Linked DNA regions of Homo sapiens: regions 2, 3 and 4 are each linked to region 1. Evidence: promoter capture Hi-C in 16 types of primary human blood cells and fetal thymus (Javierre and others, 2016). All regions are on one chromosome and are shown on one strand. The core of a region is centred on a gene start or on the middle of the fragment in contact, and the rest is flanking DNA. Distances in the headings are between cores, read along the strand shown. Region 1 holds the start of XRRA1 (X-ray radiation resistance associated 1). Region 2 overlaps ARRB1 (arrestin beta 1). Region 3 holds the start of TPBGL-AS1 (TPBGL antisense RNA 1). Region 4 holds the start of RPS3 (ribosomal protein S3).

The links. The method cuts DNA at HindIII sites, captures the fragments that hold promoters and counts their contacts. A CHiCAGO score of 5 or more calls a contact.
Region 2: a fragment that was not itself captured here is called in contact with the fragment with the promoter of XRRA1 in region 1 in 2 of 17 cell types (naive CD4 T cells and naive CD8 T cells); the score reaches 5.9 in naive CD4 T cells.
Region 3: a contact is called between a fragment that was not itself captured here and the fragment with the promoter of XRRA1 in region 1, in 2 of 17 cell types (M1 macrophages and erythroblasts). The highest score is 5.8, in M1 macrophages.
Region 4: a contact is called between the fragment with the promoter of RPS3 here and the fragment with the promoter of XRRA1 in region 1, in 6 of 17 cell types (naive CD4 T cells, fetal thymus, total CD8 T cells and 3 more). The highest score is 7.8, in naive CD4 T cells.

Annotation. Positions count from the first base shown.
Region 1 is chr11:74,947,584-74,951,910 of GRCh38, reverse strand. It overlaps XRRA1 (X-ray radiation resistance associated 1), which reads left to right and starts at 2,820. Exons shown (of 19, transcript NM_001378157.1): 1 at 2,820-2,983. SPCS2 (signal peptidase complex subunit 2) reads right to left here and starts at 2,645. Exons shown (of 5, transcript NM_014752.3): 1 at 2,512-2,645. The coding sequence starts at 2,625. RefSeq lists enhancers at 2,391-2,440, 1,743-2,597, 2,521-2,740, 2,871-2,930, 3,051-3,100 and 1 more. The HindIII fragment of the contact is 7,778 bases long and covers 1,281-4,327 here.
Region 2 is chr11:75,273,988-75,278,628 of GRCh38, reverse strand. It overlaps ARRB1 (arrestin beta 1), which reads left to right. Exons shown (of 16, transcript NM_004041.5): 8 at 1-20; 9 at 1,181-1,265; 10 at 1,718-1,790; 11 at 4,418-4,555. Among named protein-coding and RNA genes, the nearest start is that of TPBGL, 36 kb to the right of the region's middle. RefSeq lists an enhancer at 251-751. The HindIII fragment of the contact is 1,188 bases long and covers 1,415-2,602 here.
Region 3 is chr11:75,225,103-75,229,285 of GRCh38, reverse strand. TPBGL-AS1 (TPBGL antisense RNA 1) reads left to right here and starts at 3,642. Exons shown (of 6, transcript XR_950308.4): 1 at 3,642-3,947. It also overlaps the pseudogene ZDHHC20P3. The HindIII fragment of the contact is 2,886 bases long and covers 1,255-4,140 here.
Region 4 is chr11:75,396,763-75,401,240 of GRCh38, reverse strand. It overlaps RPS3 (ribosomal protein S3), which reads right to left and starts at 1,723. Exons shown (of 7, transcript NM_001005.5): 1 at 1,664-1,723; 2 at 417-547. The coding sequence starts at 1,693. It overlaps SNORD15A (small nucleolar RNA, C/D box 15A), which reads right to left and starts at 850; the gene lies at 703-850. RefSeq lists enhancers at 297-1,160, 1,387-1,746. The HindIII fragment of the contact is 4,256 bases long and covers 1-3,248 here.

The sequences.
Region 1 (4,327 bases), core at 1,571-4,070:
TGGCATGTCTTTCTTTTCTCCCCCCAAATAAGGTGCCAGTTCCACTTTCAGGAATGAGGCCTTTCCTTCAGGCTCTTACTCTTTTTTTTTTTTTTTTTTTGAGACAGAGTTTCCCTCTTGTTGCCCAGGCTGGACTGCAATGGCGTGATCTCGGCTCACTGCAACCTCCACCTCCCGGGTTCAAGCGATTCTCCTGCCTCAGCCTCCCGAGTAGGTGGGATTACAGGCATGCACCACCACACTTCGCTAATTTTGTATTTTTAGTAGAGATGGGGTTTCTCCATCTTGGTCTGGCTGGTCTTGAACTTCCGACCTCAGGTGATCCGCCTGCCTTGGCCTCTCAAAGTGCTGGGTTTACAGGTGTGAGCCACTGCGCCCGGCCGAGGCTCTTACTCTTATCAATAAGCTCGCAGGGTTCACTCTATTTCTCTCATTTGAACTTCCGTAACAAGTACACACTTGAGCGAATATACCATATACTTCCTTAAATAGATTCAATTACCCCATCTCCTATATTTGGCTATTCTGAGTGCTCTCTGACAGTAGGATTCTTGATTTACTCCTCCACCATCACACATCTGTACTGGACACTACAGGTAATGGAGATCATTAATGTGTACTGTCTTACTTGGTTCTTCCCAAAACCCTGTGATCTAGGTGCCAGAGATTCCAAAATTCCAAATGAAGAAAGGTTAAGTGACTTGCCAATCTTCATACTGTTAGCAAGTAGCAGAAATACTTCAAAGCTGAAATCTTATGATCCCCACATCCGGGTTCTTTCAATAACACAATGGTGCCATATACACTATTCCATAATAATAGTATTCTATACTGCCTTAGCAGAATGCCCATACTTAATGTTTGCTGATGATGATCCAAGTGCAAGGAAGAGCAAGAGCAGTTAGTGGGGCAGGTAAGCACAGGCTATGAGGTGCTTACCTAGCAAGAGGGAAGGATTTGTGTACACAAATGACCATCAATTCCCCATACTCTCACATGTCTTGAAGCAATTTACCATCCCAACCTCCAGAATATGTTTCTGTATCTTAAGGTTTGAGTGTGAGGCCAGGTGCATGGTGACTTATGCCTGTAATCCCAGCACTTTGGGGAGCCAAGGTGGGAGGATCTCTTGAGGCCCAGGAATTTGAGACCAGCCAGGGCAACACAGTAAGACCCTGACTCTACAGAAAAGTTAAAAGCAAAAAAATTAGTCAGGCATAGTGGTGCACATTTGCAGTCCCAGCTACTCAGGAAGCTGGGGTGGGAAGATCACCTAAGCTTAAGAGTTCAAGGCCGCAGTGAGCTAAGATCCATTCTGGGCAATGGAGCGTGACCCCTCTCACAAGAGAAGAGTGTGAGAACCATGTCTTTCAAAACCAATGACACTCAAAAAGACAAGTAAAAAGACCTGGATCTTAACCCCTCAACATAATCATGTTTTCATTTCTTAAGCACCTACCATGTGTTATGCACAGGGAAGTCTGAAAGCTGTTTTCAATTATATTCAAAAATTCTGCTTACTATATTAAAGACACCATGCTTAACAATTCTCATCAAACCAGCCCAGGGCCCTACAATGAGAGAACTGGAAGGGAATTTAGAGTTAAGTCCCTCATTTTAAGGCTAAATCTCTCACTTTGCAGATGAGAAAACAGATATAGAGAGAGCAAGCATATTTCAAGGTCACAAAGCTAATTAGAGGCAAAATCAACACCAGGACGTTGTTCTCCGTGCAACTGTTTCTTCCAAGATGCTGTGCAAAGAGCAAGAAAGGCCAACCCAGGGACAGTTTTCCTTTTTTTCTTTTCTTTTAAACCCTTGTTGCTAGGACTGCAGTTAAAAAAAATTTTTTTGGATGAGCAGAGGGAGGAAAGGGGCAAGCGTGAGCGGGCAGCAGTGCACTTGGTAGCAAAGAGGGAGGTGGAGGGAAGAGAGGAGAGGGCGGGGAAAAACAACAGGAAAAAAAGAAAAATCTTAAAGGCTTCTTGTCAGCCCAGTAGAACAGTCAATACTCAAATATTTTCAGTATTCGCCTATCATGATAAAACGCCTAAAAACTTCAGTAAGCAAAAGGACAAGAAGCACTTTGGAATCTGTAGCAGCACGCAAGGGTGATGGTGGTAGAGAGTTTGGGGGATACTGATTCTTTAATCTTTGGGCTTCGGTTTTCCGTGTCTGTGAAATGGGCACTGACAACAGTGCACCCAGCCCCCCAGGAGAAAAGAGATGGACACGATTAAATATAGGAAAAATCAAATTACCGAAAAAGGTGTGGCGACCAGGACCAGAACACTTGCGAGAAAAGAAGAAGTTCTAAAGAGGACCGGGTCCAGGTTTGAAGTGTGATGAGGGCAAGGGCAGGCTCCAAGCGTGCGTAGGGTTGTGATAGTGGTCACACAAGGGCTCCCCTCAAAAGGCCGTAGAAAATAAGGGAGACCGGGATGGGAAGGTTGGCTCGCCGCCTCCCAGGCCTCCCCAGGATTCAACTGTTCCCAAGAACCGGCTCCTCACCTTATCCAACAAGCCGCTACGGCCACTTCCTGTCCCGCAGTTGGAAGCACCACCAGCCCCACTACAGCCTCCGCTACCACCGCTTCTCCCGCCCTGTACAGCTGCCGCCGCCATCTTGTCCGCCTCTGCGTCTCCCTCCCCTCCGACTTGTCTGAAGCCGATTGGCTGGAGCTGACAGCGTGACGCGCCGCGCGGAGTCAATCGGGATCCGTAGTTTGGGTCTTGCTGGCGCGAGGTAGTCAGAGGACGTGGCCGCGGGGCTTGCTGGGACTTGAGGTTAGACGTCCCGGCCGTCGGTTGCCGCCTACACTGTCTGCCGTCGCGTCGCAGTTACTAAGGCGTGGGGAAGATAGCGGCAGGCACCGCAGTGGAGCGGCTCCGAGATCCCCGGGGGGCTCGCAGGCGCGCATCCCTCCTGACTGGGACGTCGCCTCCGCAGACCCCTCGGAGGCTGAAGCGACGCCGGAGGCAGGTGCGACTGAAACTTAGTTTTCGAATTCGAGTCTTTCTCCGGCCCAGGTGTGGAGTTTCCAAAGGAGTGGGCAGGAGCTTGTCCTTCATCCTTTTCTAGCCCGGTTGTGGCACTTACCGATTATTCTCTCAAGCAGCTGTCATTTTAGCTGTTTGTAATGTTTTCGTGTTAACGGAGAACTCGCGTTTACTGAGTGCCTACAGTCTGCCAGGCAGTATCCTATGTGCACTTCCAGCCATCCTCTCTCTCACTGAGTCCCACAACAGCCCTGTTAGATGAGGAGGAAACTAAAGAACCTACCCAAAGCCAGATAGCATGTATCTGAACTCGGTTTTCAAGCCGGCATTTAAAAAAAATCAAAACCAATATATATCCCTTCTGACACTCTGCTTTTACGGTTTTAGGATGTAATAGTATTCTAGATTTTAATTATTTTTTTCACAAATGTATATTGAGCACCAATATTGTACTAACGGATACAGGGGATCAAGATAGACCTGGTTGCTACTCTGGTGGACTACTACTCCATGACAGAGTTATCAAATAGCAGTATTGTATTATACCATGCTCTATTACGTTGTATTTTAATTAATTTTTTTCACAAATGTATATTGAGCACCAATATTGTACTAACGGATACAGGGGATCAAGATAGACCTGGTTGCTACTCTGGTGGAACTACTACTCCATGACAGAGTTATCAAATAGCAGTATTGTATTATACCATGCTCTATTACGTTGTATTGTTTTTTAATTCCTATATATCCCCCATAAGCGTCTAAAGAATTAAACAAATATTTTTGAGTTTCTTACTATGTAACAGGCACTATTCTAGTCACCAGGGATATATCCCTGAATAAAACAGACAAAAACTTGTCTTGGGGAAGCCAAAATTCATGTGAAAATAATTATCTCGGCCGGGCGTGGGGGCTCATGGTTGTAATCCCCGCCAAGGCAGGCGGATCACCTGAGGTCAGGAGTTAAAGACCAGCCTGGCCAACATGGTGAAACCCCGTCTCTACTAAAAATACAAAAATGAGCCGGGCGTGGTAGCGGGCACCTGTAATCCCAGCTACTTGGGAGGCTGAGGCAGGAGAATTGCTTGAACCGGGGAGGCGGAGGTTGCAGTGAGCCGAGATCAGAAAGAAAAGAAAATAATTATCACTAAATAACTAAATTATTACTAAAAAGAAAATAAATATCACTAAATAGCAATAACATCAGATGATATTTCATTACCTCTGTGAAGCAATCCGTGGACACTAGTCAGATCCCCTGTAGCTTGTTGTTGCAGTTTATCTTTTACAACTTCTCATTTTTCTTTTATTTAAAATAAAGTGAGAT
Region 2 (4,641 bases), core at 759-3,258, 330 kb before region 1:
AAGCCTCTCTGGATAAGGAGGTAGGAGGCTCGGACTTGGCAGGGGGTGGGGGCTGCTCCACCAGGGCCTGGGCCTCAGATCCCAGCTCTCTCCTGGCCTGCAAGGATGCCTCAGGTAGGAGCTTCTATCCCCAGCCCAAGGACCACAGGGGTCAGGGAATCTGAGACCTCTCATGGGGGATTTGGAGAAGCCTCTTGGGCCTAAAGGAGTGGCAAAGGGGGCATGAACTTGAGAGATGTGATGGACTTCCGAAGTGAGGAGCAGACCTTCCTGAAGGTCCTGGACATCTCCCCCACACCTCCACCAGCTGCCTGCCTCAGGCCGAGTGCTGAAGGTCAACCAGCATTGCAGAGGGGGCACGGTGGGGGGCCGTGACCTTCCTGCCAAACACTGAGCGTCAGGGCGACAAGCCCTGCAGAAGGAAGGGCCTCCCCTCAAACTCTGAATCAAACCCAGCTGACTGCTGTGAGCTTAGGCTGGCCCCTCCTCAAGGTGTGGGCACCCCCTCTCTCTCGGGGCATGGCTGAAGGGAAGTGCCTTGGGGCAAGATGCAAGTTGAGGTCTTTTTGTAGGGATTCAGAGCTGGCTCCCTCAGTGAGCTGGTGAGCCCATCCTCACCTTTCCCTGCTTCTTCCAGATCCTTCTGTGGACAGAATTTAGAGCTGGCAGGGACTTCAGACATCACCTAGTCCAACCCCTTCGTTGCACAGAGGGAGACCCTGAGGCTTAGATAACCTACCCACGGTCACACTGCTTTCATCATCGTCAATGTTATTGTTGTTATTGTTGTCACAATTACTGCTGGCCAAGCCAGGGCTGGAGCCCAGGACTATCACCTTCCAATTCCGTTATCTTTCAAGGGTCCCACCAGGGAACTGAAGGCTAATGTGCTTGGTGGCTTTCATGCCACCTTAGCAGCAGTGGGAAGTGGCTGATGAACTTGGGGCAAATGTCACAATGCCTTGGGGGATTCGGAGAAGCCTCTTGGGCCTAAAGGAGTGGCAGAGGGGGCATGAACCTGAGGGATGTGATGGACTTCAGATGGGAGCAGCAGACCCTTCTGAAGGTCTGCGCAAGGTCTGGGGAACCCCAGAAGATCGCGTGGGGGCTTTTCTCCCTCCCCTTTCCCTAGAACCTTGCTGTCCTCCCAGCCAACCCCGTCCCTTCTTATGCCCCCCAGATCTATTACCATGGAGAACCCATCAGCGTCAACGTCCACGTCACCAACAACACCAACAAGACGGTGAAGAAGATCAAGATCTCAGGTATCCCAGACAGAGGGTCAGCTTAGGGGACAGCGAGAGGCAATCTTCCCAAGGGCTGGGGGTGGCTGAAGTATCTCCCCTTGTTAACAGCCTTGTATAAAAAATAGCCACTGAAGCCCAGGGCCTGCTCTGAGCCACAGGGCAAAGCTTTTGAGTTGGGTAAGGCAGGCTGCTTATTGGCTAGGTAATGAGTTTGCTCTTTAAGCCACCTCTTCAGTTTCTTGGGTTCTGGACAAAGCTGTCCTTGAGGGGAAGGCTTTGGTTATGGAAGGAAATGGGTGTGTTTGGGGCTACCCTTTGGATGTAAGACAGGGGTGGTCTTATGCAGAAGTCCCCACTGGTGGCCTCTGGCCATTGCCTGGGGCTGAATATCCCCAACCCGGGGACGCCTGTGAGACTCCATGGGAGCTACATTCCCGACTCACTCCACCTTGATTCCTCTCCCTCCCTAGTGCGCCAGTATGCAGACATCTGCCTTTTCAACACAGCTCAGTACAAGTGCCCTGTTGCCATGGAAGAGGCTGAGTAAGTGGGCACAAGTCTGGCCTTGGGCGTATGGGATTGGGTGGGAAAAAGAGAAGCTCTAGGTGTCCTGTTACAGGTCCAGGTGGCTCTTCTCCACCTGGCAGAGGGCTGGGCCTCAGACTTCCTTGCCACTCAGAGTAGATGATCCCGAAGAGCCTTTTAGAAACCATCCACCTGATTTAGCTTCAAGAAAATGCATGCTACAGTCAAGGAAGAGACCCACTAAAACTAGAGTGACAAAACAATAGCTAATGAATGTAAGGGGATTGGGGTTGTGAGAAGAAATAATTACGTTGTACAAGAAACCTAGGTTGAAGGGAAATACTTTGTTCTTGGCTTCCTGGTAGCCAGGGCAAAGTGGGTAAGGCACTAGGTACACAGCTCTTGTCTGATAAAGGGGTAATCCAACTCATTGGGAAAAAGGGGTTGTGTGTGGGAGTGCAGAGAATAATTACACACAAAAAAATCATCTAGGTTTGAGGAGAACTGCTATGGTTGAGCATGGATCGAACTTTGTCCCAGGCTTGTTGGCAGCTAAGGCAAGTGGAGAGATCTGAAGTGAAACATCTTTACTTACCTAAAGGAAGTAAATGCTCCCATTCAAAGACATACACATTTTTTTTTCCTGGCCCTGCAAGTAATTTCTTGGGGCAATTATACCTGATATAATTTTACATGTATATGTGTATTTGTTTATGTATAATTCCAATCAGTATTTCTTGCAACTGAAAATATTTTTAAAATGTTACTACATGGCCTTTGAAATAGTTTTTAATGTCCTATAGGTGAACATGCTATGATTAGATCAAGCTTTCTCTGGTTACTGGATATTTTTCATATCCACTGTTGATTTTTTCAAAAAAATCAGAGCTATGAGGCATAGATTCCTGATGGTAAAGTGAAGTGATCTAGAACCAGAGTAACATATAATCCCTAAAGAGTAGAAAATCCCAACCACTGCAGATGGTGCCAGCGTCTGCATAACGAATACCAGCAGGGATGGCTGGGGAGGCATTTGCACTCACAGACTTGTTTACTTCTCAGGAAGCGCTGTGGGGCTGGGGTTGCTGCTGCCCCAGTATGTAGAGGAGGAAGTGGCTCAGAGAGATGTGACTTGCAAGTTAGCAAGCAGCAAAGCTGGGGCTGGAACACGGTCGTCCGACTCCAAGGCTTGTTCACTATCTGCTGCATGACAGCTCTCTCATTGGAAAGGATGGGGGATAGAGCAAAAGCAAGTAAAAATTGGACAATCAAAACACCCTATATATGATGGATGTGATCAAGCAAGTAAAGTTTTAATTGTTGAGCCTAGATGGTGGGTATATGGGTGCCCAAATAGCTTCATTTATGGTTTATGTGTAGCTATAATTTTTTCTTTTTAAAATGTGTTTAGAGACAGGGCTGGTGCTCACGCCTATAATCCCAGCACTTGGGGAGGCTGAGGCAGGCAGATCACTTGAGGTCAGGAGTTTGAGACCATCCTGGCCAACATGGCAAAACCTCATCTCTACTAAAAATACAAAAATTAGTCGGGCATGGTGGCGCGCCCCTGTGATCCCAGCTACTTGGGAGGCTGAGGTAGGAGAACTGCTTCAACCTGGGAGGTGGAGGTTCCAGTGAGCCAGGATCGCACTACTGTACTCTAGCCTGGGCGACAGAGCAAGACTCTGTCTCAAAAAAATAAAATAAAATAAAATAAAATAAAATAAAATAAATTTAAATTAAATTTGTTTAGAGACAGAGTTTCACTCTGTTGCCCAGGCTGGAGTGCAGTGGTATGATCATGGCTCACTACAGCCAGCCTCGAACTCCTGGGCTCAAGTGATCCTCCTGCCTCAGCCTCCCAAGTAGCTAGGACTACAGGTGTGCACCACCATATCAGGCTAATGTTTAAAATTTTTTGTAGCGATGGGGTCTTGCTATGTTGCCCAGGCTGGTCTCAAACTCCTAGCCTCAAGCAATCCTCCTGTCAGCCTCTCAAGTTGCTGGGATTACAGGCATGAGCAACTGTGCCTGCTGTGGCTGTACTTTTTTTTTTTTTTTTTTTGAGATGGAGTCTTGCTCTGTCACCCAGGCTGGAGTGCAGTGGAGCAATCTCGGCTCACTGTAAGCTCCACCTCCCAGGTTCATGCCATTCTCCTGGCTCAGCCTCCTGAGTAGCTGGAACTACAGGCGTCCACCACCATGCCCGGCTAATTTTTTTGTATTTTTAGTAGAGACGGGGTTTCACCTTGTTAGCCAGGATGGTCTCCAACTCCTGACCTCGTGATCTACCCGCCTCGGCCTCCCAAAATGCTGGGATTACAGGCGTGAGCCACTGCACCCGGCTGGCTGTAATTCTTTAAATAAATGTGCTTTTTAGCACTGTGCTGCTTGACTAGGATAATCTTTTAGAATATCCGAGATTCAGTCCTGTTTGTGCGTAGAATGTAGATGTGCCTCTTTTGAGTGGCAGTGGTCTCCTTGCCCGAGCTGGGCTGGCCCAAGTGGTCCGTGTGTCTGGGGGACAGAGGTTGGGAGAGGGAGACTTGGAGCAGGCTCAGACTAGATATTCTGCTGGGCTGGAGATCAGGGCTGGGGTTGGCTCTGGGGAGGGCCATCTCCACAGCTGCTTCCTTTCTTCCCAGTGACACTGTGGCACCCAGCTCGACGTTCTGCAAGGTCTACACACTGACCCCCTTCCTAGCCAATAACCGAGAGAAGCGGGGCCTCGCCTTGGACGGGAAGCTCAAGCACGAAGACACGAACTTGGCCTCTAGCACCCTGTGAGGACCTGCCCTCCTAGCCCTGGGCTCCTAGTGCATCTTGCCTGATGGGGCCACACCCTCCTTGGTCCCCCCAGTTCAAAGAC
Region 3 (4,183 bases), core at 1,448-3,947, 280 kb before region 1:
GGGTTCAAGCGATTCTCCTACCTCAGCCTCCTGAGTAGTTGGGATCGCAGGCGTGCACTACCATGCCCGGCTAATTTTTGTATTTTTAGTAGAGATGGGGTTTCGCCACGTTGGTCAGGCTGGTCTCGAACTCCTGATCTCAGGTGATCCTCCTGCCTTGGCCTCCCAAGTGCTGGGATTACAGGCATGAGCCACCACACCCGGCCAGCCATAATTTTAAAGATGAGGTACGGTGGCTAACCCCTGTAATCCCAACATTTTGGGAGGCCAAGGCAAGAGGATCACTTTAGGCCAGGAGTTTGAGACCAGCCTGGGAAACTTCAGGAGACCTCGTCTCCACAAAAAAATTAAAAAAGGTAGCCGGGCATGGTGGCACACGCCTGCTGTCCCAGCTACTCAGGAGGTTGAGGTGGGAGGATCGTTTGAGCCCTAGGGGTTGAGGCTGCAGTAAGCCACGATTGGACCACTGCATTCCAGCCTGGGTGACAGAGCAAGACCCTGTCTCAAAAAAAAACGATGAGGAAACTGAGGCACAGAAAGGGTAAGTGACTTGCCTAAAGTCACAGTTGAGTTGGAGGAGGGCTGGGATGCCTCCCCTGGCTGTTTGGCTCCAGGCCTGCTCTTAATCATTATGATCTCCTGAGAGGAGCAGCGAGAAGCTTGCCTGCCTGTACCCCCCAGCAATTAAGGACCCCTTGGTATTGTGAAAAATGTCAGTGGAGTGTGTCTGATTAGGCTCATCAGTGCTCAGCATGGGACACATGTGTTTTTAAGATGGATCACCATTATCCCTGGCTGAAGAATTGCATGGGGTTTTCTAATTACAAATTATTCCTGCTGGATTTCATTATGCTTCCTCTTGTACTGGCTTTTTGTATTTTCAGTAATCTTATAAAACTTTGAAAATCATGATCAGTCAAGCTTATCTTCTAAGTCTTTTTTTCTTTTTTCTTTTCTTTTCTTTTTTTTTTTTTTTTTGAGACGGAGTCTCGCTCTGTCGCCCAGGCTGGAGTGCAGTGGCGGGATCTCGGCTCACTGCAAGCTCCGCCTCCCGGGTTCACGCCATTCTCCTGCCTCAGCCTCCCAAGTAGCTGGGACTACAGGCGCCCGCCACCACGCCCGGCTAATTTTTTGTATTTTTAGTAGAGACGGGGTTTCACCGTTTAGCCGGGATGGTCTCGATCTCCTGACCTCGTGATCCGCCCGCCTCGGCCTCCCAAAGTCTTCTAAGTCTTAAGAATATACAGCTAAGCTTTTATTAAGACAGTATTGTTACATTTTTTTAAAGTGAATGTTTGACTCAATATTACAAAACAGCAGTTACTTGAATTTTACCATTCCACGATTATAATGAGTCAGAAGAGAAGGTTGAACATTTATCTTCCTATAGAAAACCTTCATTCACTCAGAAAGCAAATTTCCTGTGGTAGAGAAAAGTTTTCACTTAAGTATTTTAAACTATTTTCAGCCAACAGCAAGTAGGCAAGAAGCCTGTGTTAATTTAATAATTCCTAACTGAGACTTTTCACTGATCACTGAAAATTCTTCCAATTTAACGGCATTAACAAAGACAGCAGAAAAGGAATGGTATATATCATTTTAAAAAGAAGAATATAGTTCAAATCCCAGCTAGGAAAAAAAAAATTAAAGAAGAATAAAACATAGTGATCACCAGGACCCAGCCTAGGTTTACTTAAAATAAGTCAGGCTAATCTCTCATCTCTCTTGCTTTGGGAGAACCAAAATTGCAATAGATCAGGGGTCTGTTGAAGTCTTGAGAATCCTGATTTCAAAAAGGCAATTGGAACATCTCCCAAGGTACTTTTTTTTTTTGAGACAGAGTCTCGCTGTGTCGCCGAGGCTTGAGTGCAATGGTGCGATCGCAAGTCACTGCAACCTCCGACTCCTGGGTTCAAGTGATTCTCCTGCCTCAGCCTCCCAAGTAGCTGGGACTACAGGCGCTTGCCACCACACCCAGCTAATTTTTGTATTTTTAGTAGATACAGGGTTTCACTATGATGGCCAGGCTGGTCTTGAACTCCTGACCTCAGGTGATCCTCCTGCCTCGGCCTCCCAAAGTGCTGGGATTACAGGCGTGAGCCACTGTGCCCAGCCTCCCAAGGTACTTTCATGGCAAGCTACAGTAGGGATCAAATCGTGATACACTAGGGGAATCCCTGGCTGCCTGGACAGCAGGTGGTGGAGAACGGGTAAGTGGATCAATGGCAGCTTAGAGGGAAGACTAGTGCCCTGCTCCGGGCTTGTTCCTCCCTGCTATCTTGCTCAGTCTGATGTATTTTTTCAGGGACTTGGATTAGGCCAAATAAAGCATGCTTATCAAATCTGGGTGGGAGAGTGATTATGTCAGATGGCAGAACTGGGTTTCAAAATGATCTGCATTAACTTGGCCCATAGGTGATGACCATAGGTTCACGTTCATGGAGGTAAATGTCAAGTCCTCATCGGGGCTCAGAGGTTCGGGTGAGGGAGAGAAGAAGGAATTATTGAGCACATACTTCGTGCTGTACCCTAACATAAGATATCTCAGTTAATAGTGAAAACCTTAGGAGGATGTTGTTCTCATTTTATTTTTTTTAATTATAGATTCAGGAGGTACACATGCAATTTGTTAAACAGATATTTTGTGTAATGGTGAGGTTTGGGCTTCTAGTGTATCCATTACCCAAATAGTGAACATTGTACCCAGTAGGTAGTTTTTCAGTCTTCACCCCTTCCACCCTGTTCTCATTTTATAGTGGAAGAAACTGAAAGCCAGAGAAGCTAAGCATTTGCTCAGGTCACATAGTAAGAGATGGAGCTCAGATCAAAGCCAAGGCCCATAAGACTCTTAGGTCCATTCTTCATAAAAAGTTCAGGATGAAGGAAACAGAGTTTAATAGCAGTTTATGTGGAAAGAAAACAAAACCACACATTTATGTGATATTAGTCCTGAATTCATATGCTAAGTCTTTCCTGAGCCTCTCTTCTGGGACCATCCTTGAGCTAGGCTTGGGGTGAAGAGATGAAAACTCACAGCCCCTGAGCAAGTTGAGCTCCTGGTCGGGGGAAGAGCAACCAACACTAGAACAGGTGGATTTGACAGTGCTGGGCATACAGAATACTGTGGGAGCCCAGAGAAAACCTGAACCCTCCAGCAAACTGTAGAAGAGGCAGTGCCTGGCCTGAGGCCCGAGGCTGGTTGGCTTGTCTGGGAGCCCAGGGAGGACATGGATTGTAGGTCCCAGCACGATGACCCAGGCTGGGCCTCACCTCTGCCCCTCAGTGGTGAGGAGCACTGAGGCCCCGGAAGGGGTAGGGCTGAGGGAAGGAGGTTTGCCAACTCTTCACCAGAAATGGAAGAAGAGAGCAGGAGGGGGTGGGGCATGGTGGCTCATGCCTGTAATCCCAGCACTTTGGGAAGCCAAGGTGGGTGGATCACTTGAGATCAGGAGTTCATGACCAGCCTGGCCAACACGGTGAAACCCCATCTCCACTAAAAATACAAAAATTAGCTGGGCATGAGTGCCTGTAATCCAGCTACTTGGGAGGCTGACGCACAAGAATCACTTGAATCCGGGAGGCAGAGATTGCAGTGAGCCGAGATCATGCCACTGCAGTCCAGCCTGGGCGACAGAACAAGACTCTGTCTCAAACAAACAAACACCAGACAGGGAGACAGAGAGAGCAGGAGGGGAGTGGGAGCTCTGGAAGGCATCTGAGAGCCAGGCAGGGACACGCCTCTGTGGACACTGGGAGGTTCTGGGACCTTAGCTCCAGACAGGCCGGTTACTTTGTAACCCCCCACTGTGTCCTGCAGCTGATCCTTCAGGAGAGAAGGGCTAGAGACTGGTGTTCAGGGTCAGTGAGCACATAAACAGATGTCCTGGGAGTCATTTGGGAGAGAAAAAGAGGACATCCCAGGTTTTTGTGCCCACAGGAAAGACAATGTGAGTAACACATACAGAAGTTTCTAAGGTGGGCAATGAGGCCAGGTGGGCTGGAGGCGGGAGGTCAGGAGACAAGGGAGGGGGTTGTTGAGATACTACTGGCGCTGTCAGCGAAGGCCAGGCCATGCTGGGCCTTGCAGGCCTTGAAGATTTTAACCTTTGTTTCAAAGGCAAAGAGAAGCCATTGAAAGCTTTTAAGTAGAAATGTGACATAATTTTATTTGTATTTTGTAAAG
Region 4 (4,478 bases), core at 474-2,973, 450 kb before region 1:
ATTCACTAAGCCCAGATTCACTGTTCCGTCTGTCCCCTTAAGTTCATAAAGGATAAACCTGCCGGGCGCGGTGGCTCACGCCTGTAATCCCAGCACTTTGGGAGGCTGAGGCAGGCGGATCACGAGGTCAGGAGATCCAGACCGTCCTGGCTAACACGGTGAAACCCCAACTCTACTAAAAACACAAAAAATTAGCAAGGTATGGTGGCGGGCGCCTATAGTCCCAGCTACTCGGGAGGCTGACGCAGGAGAATGGCGTGAACCCGGGAGGCGGAGCTTGCAGTGAGCCGAGATCGCGCCACTGCACTCCAGCTTTGGGGACAGAGCAAGACTCCGTCTCAAAAAAATAAATAAATAAATAAACCAACTTAGCATTTATAACAATTATAGGTGATGGCCAGTCAAATGAGTTTTACCTGGTGGCTAAGATAATGATTTCTGTCCTGGTTGGTGTAACTCGCACCTCAACTCCAGAGTAGCCATCTTCAGCCAGCTCCCGAGTAAGAAACTCATTCAGTTCAGCTTTGAAGATGCCATCAGCGACAAACTAATCCAAACAAAGCAAAGTTCAAAATTAGGAGATCGGTGTAGGCTCACTTTCGCCTGAGCCAGTCTAGTCTTATTAGTCAATGCATCCCTCACCAAAACTAAATACCTCCAACCAATGGTTCCAAACCCTTGTTCCAACAGGAGTGCAGCAACCCTTCTCAGACAAATGCCTCTAAGTCATCTTTAGGAAATTACTTCAACCAGGGCTCTTTAAACTGTGCCACAGAACGCAGCACAGAGTAGGCCACCTGGGCAAAGAGAACATCCCCAAGTCAGACTCGTCATCATCTCTTCATCGAAGGGTTTAAAACAGTTCCACATGCAAAACAAGAAACTGCTCTAATGGCCTATTTACACTTCATTCAGCACAGCAAAGACACTGTACTTGTCACTGTTAAGGAATAGATAGTAGACTTAACATATAAGCTCTCTCACTTGTAGACACAACCTGCACCGTCTAAAGAATCCCAGCCATGTTATTTGGCTTTACGGTACCAACAGAGCTGGCAAATCCTAACTCTCGAGAAGTTGTGGATTTAATTTTGACATCGAAGTGTATATACGAAATGACAAACTGTCTATTTTTAAAGCTAATGATTTTTACACAGTTCTATCCCATGTAATGACAAGGCGTTAAATCCGAGGCAGCTTCCTCCCGGGGTCCCCAGACGGAGCAAGCAACCGTCAGCAACCCTTCAAGTTGAGGTCCTGGGGCCAGCGGACTGTACCCAGAAACGACCAGTTAAGGCAAGAATACACTGCTGCCTTCTCTTCCCAAAACCACGGGATAAGACATGAGGGAAATGACACACGCCCTCAAAATACCACGTTTACTAATTCCGTTGACCGACAAATGCTCACAAACGCCTTCTCCGGGACAGAAGGGGCGCCTGGTGCCCATCTCTCTGCGCTTCACTTGGAACCCGGCCACACAGCGCCCTCCTGGCTGGGGCCTCTCACTCAATCCACCGCCATCCGCGGCCCGCAGGAACGCCAGGAAGCCTAGGCCGCTTCCAGGGCAGGCCACGGAGCTGCAGGCCTCGCGGTGGCACCCCGAGAAGCCCTCGACCCGCGCGGCGCCGTCGTTCTCCGAACCCAGTCCCCAGAGGCTCACCTTCCTCTTCTTGGATATTTGCACTGCCATCTTGCCGCCGCGCTCCGCTGAAAGGAAAGGAAGTGGCTCGCGGGCGGAAGTGAGTATAAAGGGCGCGAGCGACGACGGAGGGCTGCGCTGCGTGCACGCCTGTGGGTGCTCATGGGAAATGTAGTTTTTACGTAAGTAAGGCGTCCAGGGAAAGAAGAATGTAGGCAGGAACAGGAAAGGGGCTTCATCCAGCAGGACTTCTAAACTTCAGGGGACCTTAGAGTTCAATTCTCATAGTTTCAAAACAAGCAATGTGAGGTGCAGAGGTGGAAATTACAGGTATAAGTTCACACAGCAAGAGAGATTAACCAGCGTGGAACTCTGGCCCCTACACTTTCAGGGTGGACACTGTAATGAAAATCTGCTGAAATCCCTCAGTGAAACTCATTTAAGACTCCTCTTTGGGAGGCCAAGGCGGGCGGATTACTTGAGGTCAGGAGTTCGAGATTAGCCTGGCGAACATGGTGAAACCCCGTCTCTACTAAAAATAGAAAAATTAGCTGGGAGTGGTGTCGGGCACCTGTAATCCCAGCTACTCGGGAGGCTGAGGTGGGAGGATTGCTTGGACCTGGGAGATGGAGGTTGCAGTGGGCCAAGATCCTACCACTGCACTCTAGCCTGGACCACAGAGTGAGACTCTGTCTCAAACAAACAAACAAACAAACAAACAAAACAACTCATGTCCCCCAGTCTGTACCCATTTCCTCCATTCCAAATGATAATAATAAAACCTGATACTTACTAAGTGTCCTAGGGACTGCGTTCTGTGTCCTTTATGTTGTTCTCATTTACCCCACCTTACTTTCATCAAGTCCATTACAATTTGTAACAGAAGTCCCAGAAGGTCCCATGGGCCCGCCCTTCCTTCCTTCCTTCCTTCCTTCCTCTCTCTTTCTCTCTCTCTTTCTCTCCTTTCTTTCTTTTCTCTCCGGTTGCCCAAGCTGGAGTGCAGTAGTACGATCTCAGCTCCCTGCAACCTCCACTTCCCAGGTTCAAGTGATTCTTCTGCCTTGGCCTCCTGAGTAGCTGGGATTACAGGTGCACACCACCACACCCAGCTAATTTTTGTATTTTTAGTAGAGATGAAGTTTCACTATGTTGGCCAGGCTGGTCTTGAACTCCTGACCTCAAGTGATCCACCTGCCTTAGCCTCCCAGAGTGCTGGGATTACAGGCATGAGCCACCGTGCCTGGCCTTCTTTTTCAATTAAAAAAAATTCTAGCCAGGTGCAGTGGCTCAGGCCTGTAATCTTAGCACTTTGGGAGGCCAAGGCAAGTGGATAGCTTGAGGCCAGAAGTTTGAGACCAGTCTGGGCAACAGAATGAGACACCCTCATCTCTATGAAAAGTGAAAAAAGAAAATTATCCAGGTGTGGTGGTGTGTGCCTGTAGTCCCAGCTACTCTGGAGGGAGATGTGAGAGGATTGCTTGAGTACAGGAGGTCTAGGCTGCAGTGAGCCGTGATTGTGCCACTGCACTCAGCCCGGGCAACAGAGTGAGACTCAGTCTAAAAAAAATAAAAAATTAAAAATGTCCCTTCATTTTTTAATGAAGCTTACAGAACAGTTGAAAAAACTGTACGTGTATGCATCACCAAGCTGAGGGGGAATTGAGAATGATGCTACAATTAATATTTTGCTGTTGCTTTATCGTGGATCTACTCATCCCTGTAGCCACCCACCAATACATCTTTTGAGGCATTTCAAAGTAAGTTGCAGACATTGGTAAACTTTACCCCTAAACACTTCAATAACAGTTTTATTTTATTTATTTATTTATTTTTGAGACGAAGTCTTACTCTGTTGCCTAAGCTGGAGTGCAGTGGTGCGATCGCCGCTCACCGTAACCTCCACCTCCCGGGTTCAAGCGATTCTCCTGCCTCAGCCTCCTGAGTAGCTGGGACTACAGGCAAGCACCGCCATGTCCAGCTAATTTTCATATTTTTAGTAGAGATAGGGTTTCACTATGTTGGCCAGGCTTGTCTTGAACTCCTAACCTTGTGATCCGCCCACCTCGGCCTCCAAAAGTGCTGGGATTACAGGCGTGAGCCACCGCACCCAGCCAACAGTTTTATTTTAAGTTTGAATAGTTTTCTTCATTTAAAAGTCAGGGTATTTCTCTCTAAAACTATTTTAGGTTTTTCTTAAGGATATAGAAATATCTAGCAAAATAGTGAACCCACATTTCTTCATGGGCAGTGCTCTCCTTTCCTGTTACACAAAAAGAGTCTTTCCAAGGTGCCACACTCCCTGGCAGCACCACTCAGTTATTTTCTGGTCCTAGAAGCCATTGGAGTGTTTAACTCCAGCTCTAAAACAACTCTGATGTAAAGTGACCTGTCCTATAATCACGGAATTAACAGAGTTCTGTGGTTGCTGAGCAGAGGGACCAGGGAAGATGACAAAAAGTGGATGGGCGCGGTGGCTCATGCCTGTAATCCCAGCACTTTGGGAGGCCGAGGCAGGTGGATCACCTGAGGTCGTGAGTTTGAGACCAGCCTGGCCAGCATAGTGAAACCCCATCTCTACTAAAAATACAAAAATTAGCCTAGTGTGGTGGTGCACGCCTGTAATCCCAGCTACTTGGGAGGCTGAGGCATGAGAGTCACTTGAACCCGAGAGGTGGAATTGCAGTAAGCCATGGTCAAAGCCACTGCCCTCCAGTCTGGGTGACAGAGCGAGACCCCGTCTCAAAGAAAAAAAAAGAAAAGAAAGGAAAAGAAGTGGATGAACCAAAGAACCAAAGAGATGGTAGCTGTGGATCTATCTTTTTTTTTTTTTTTGAGA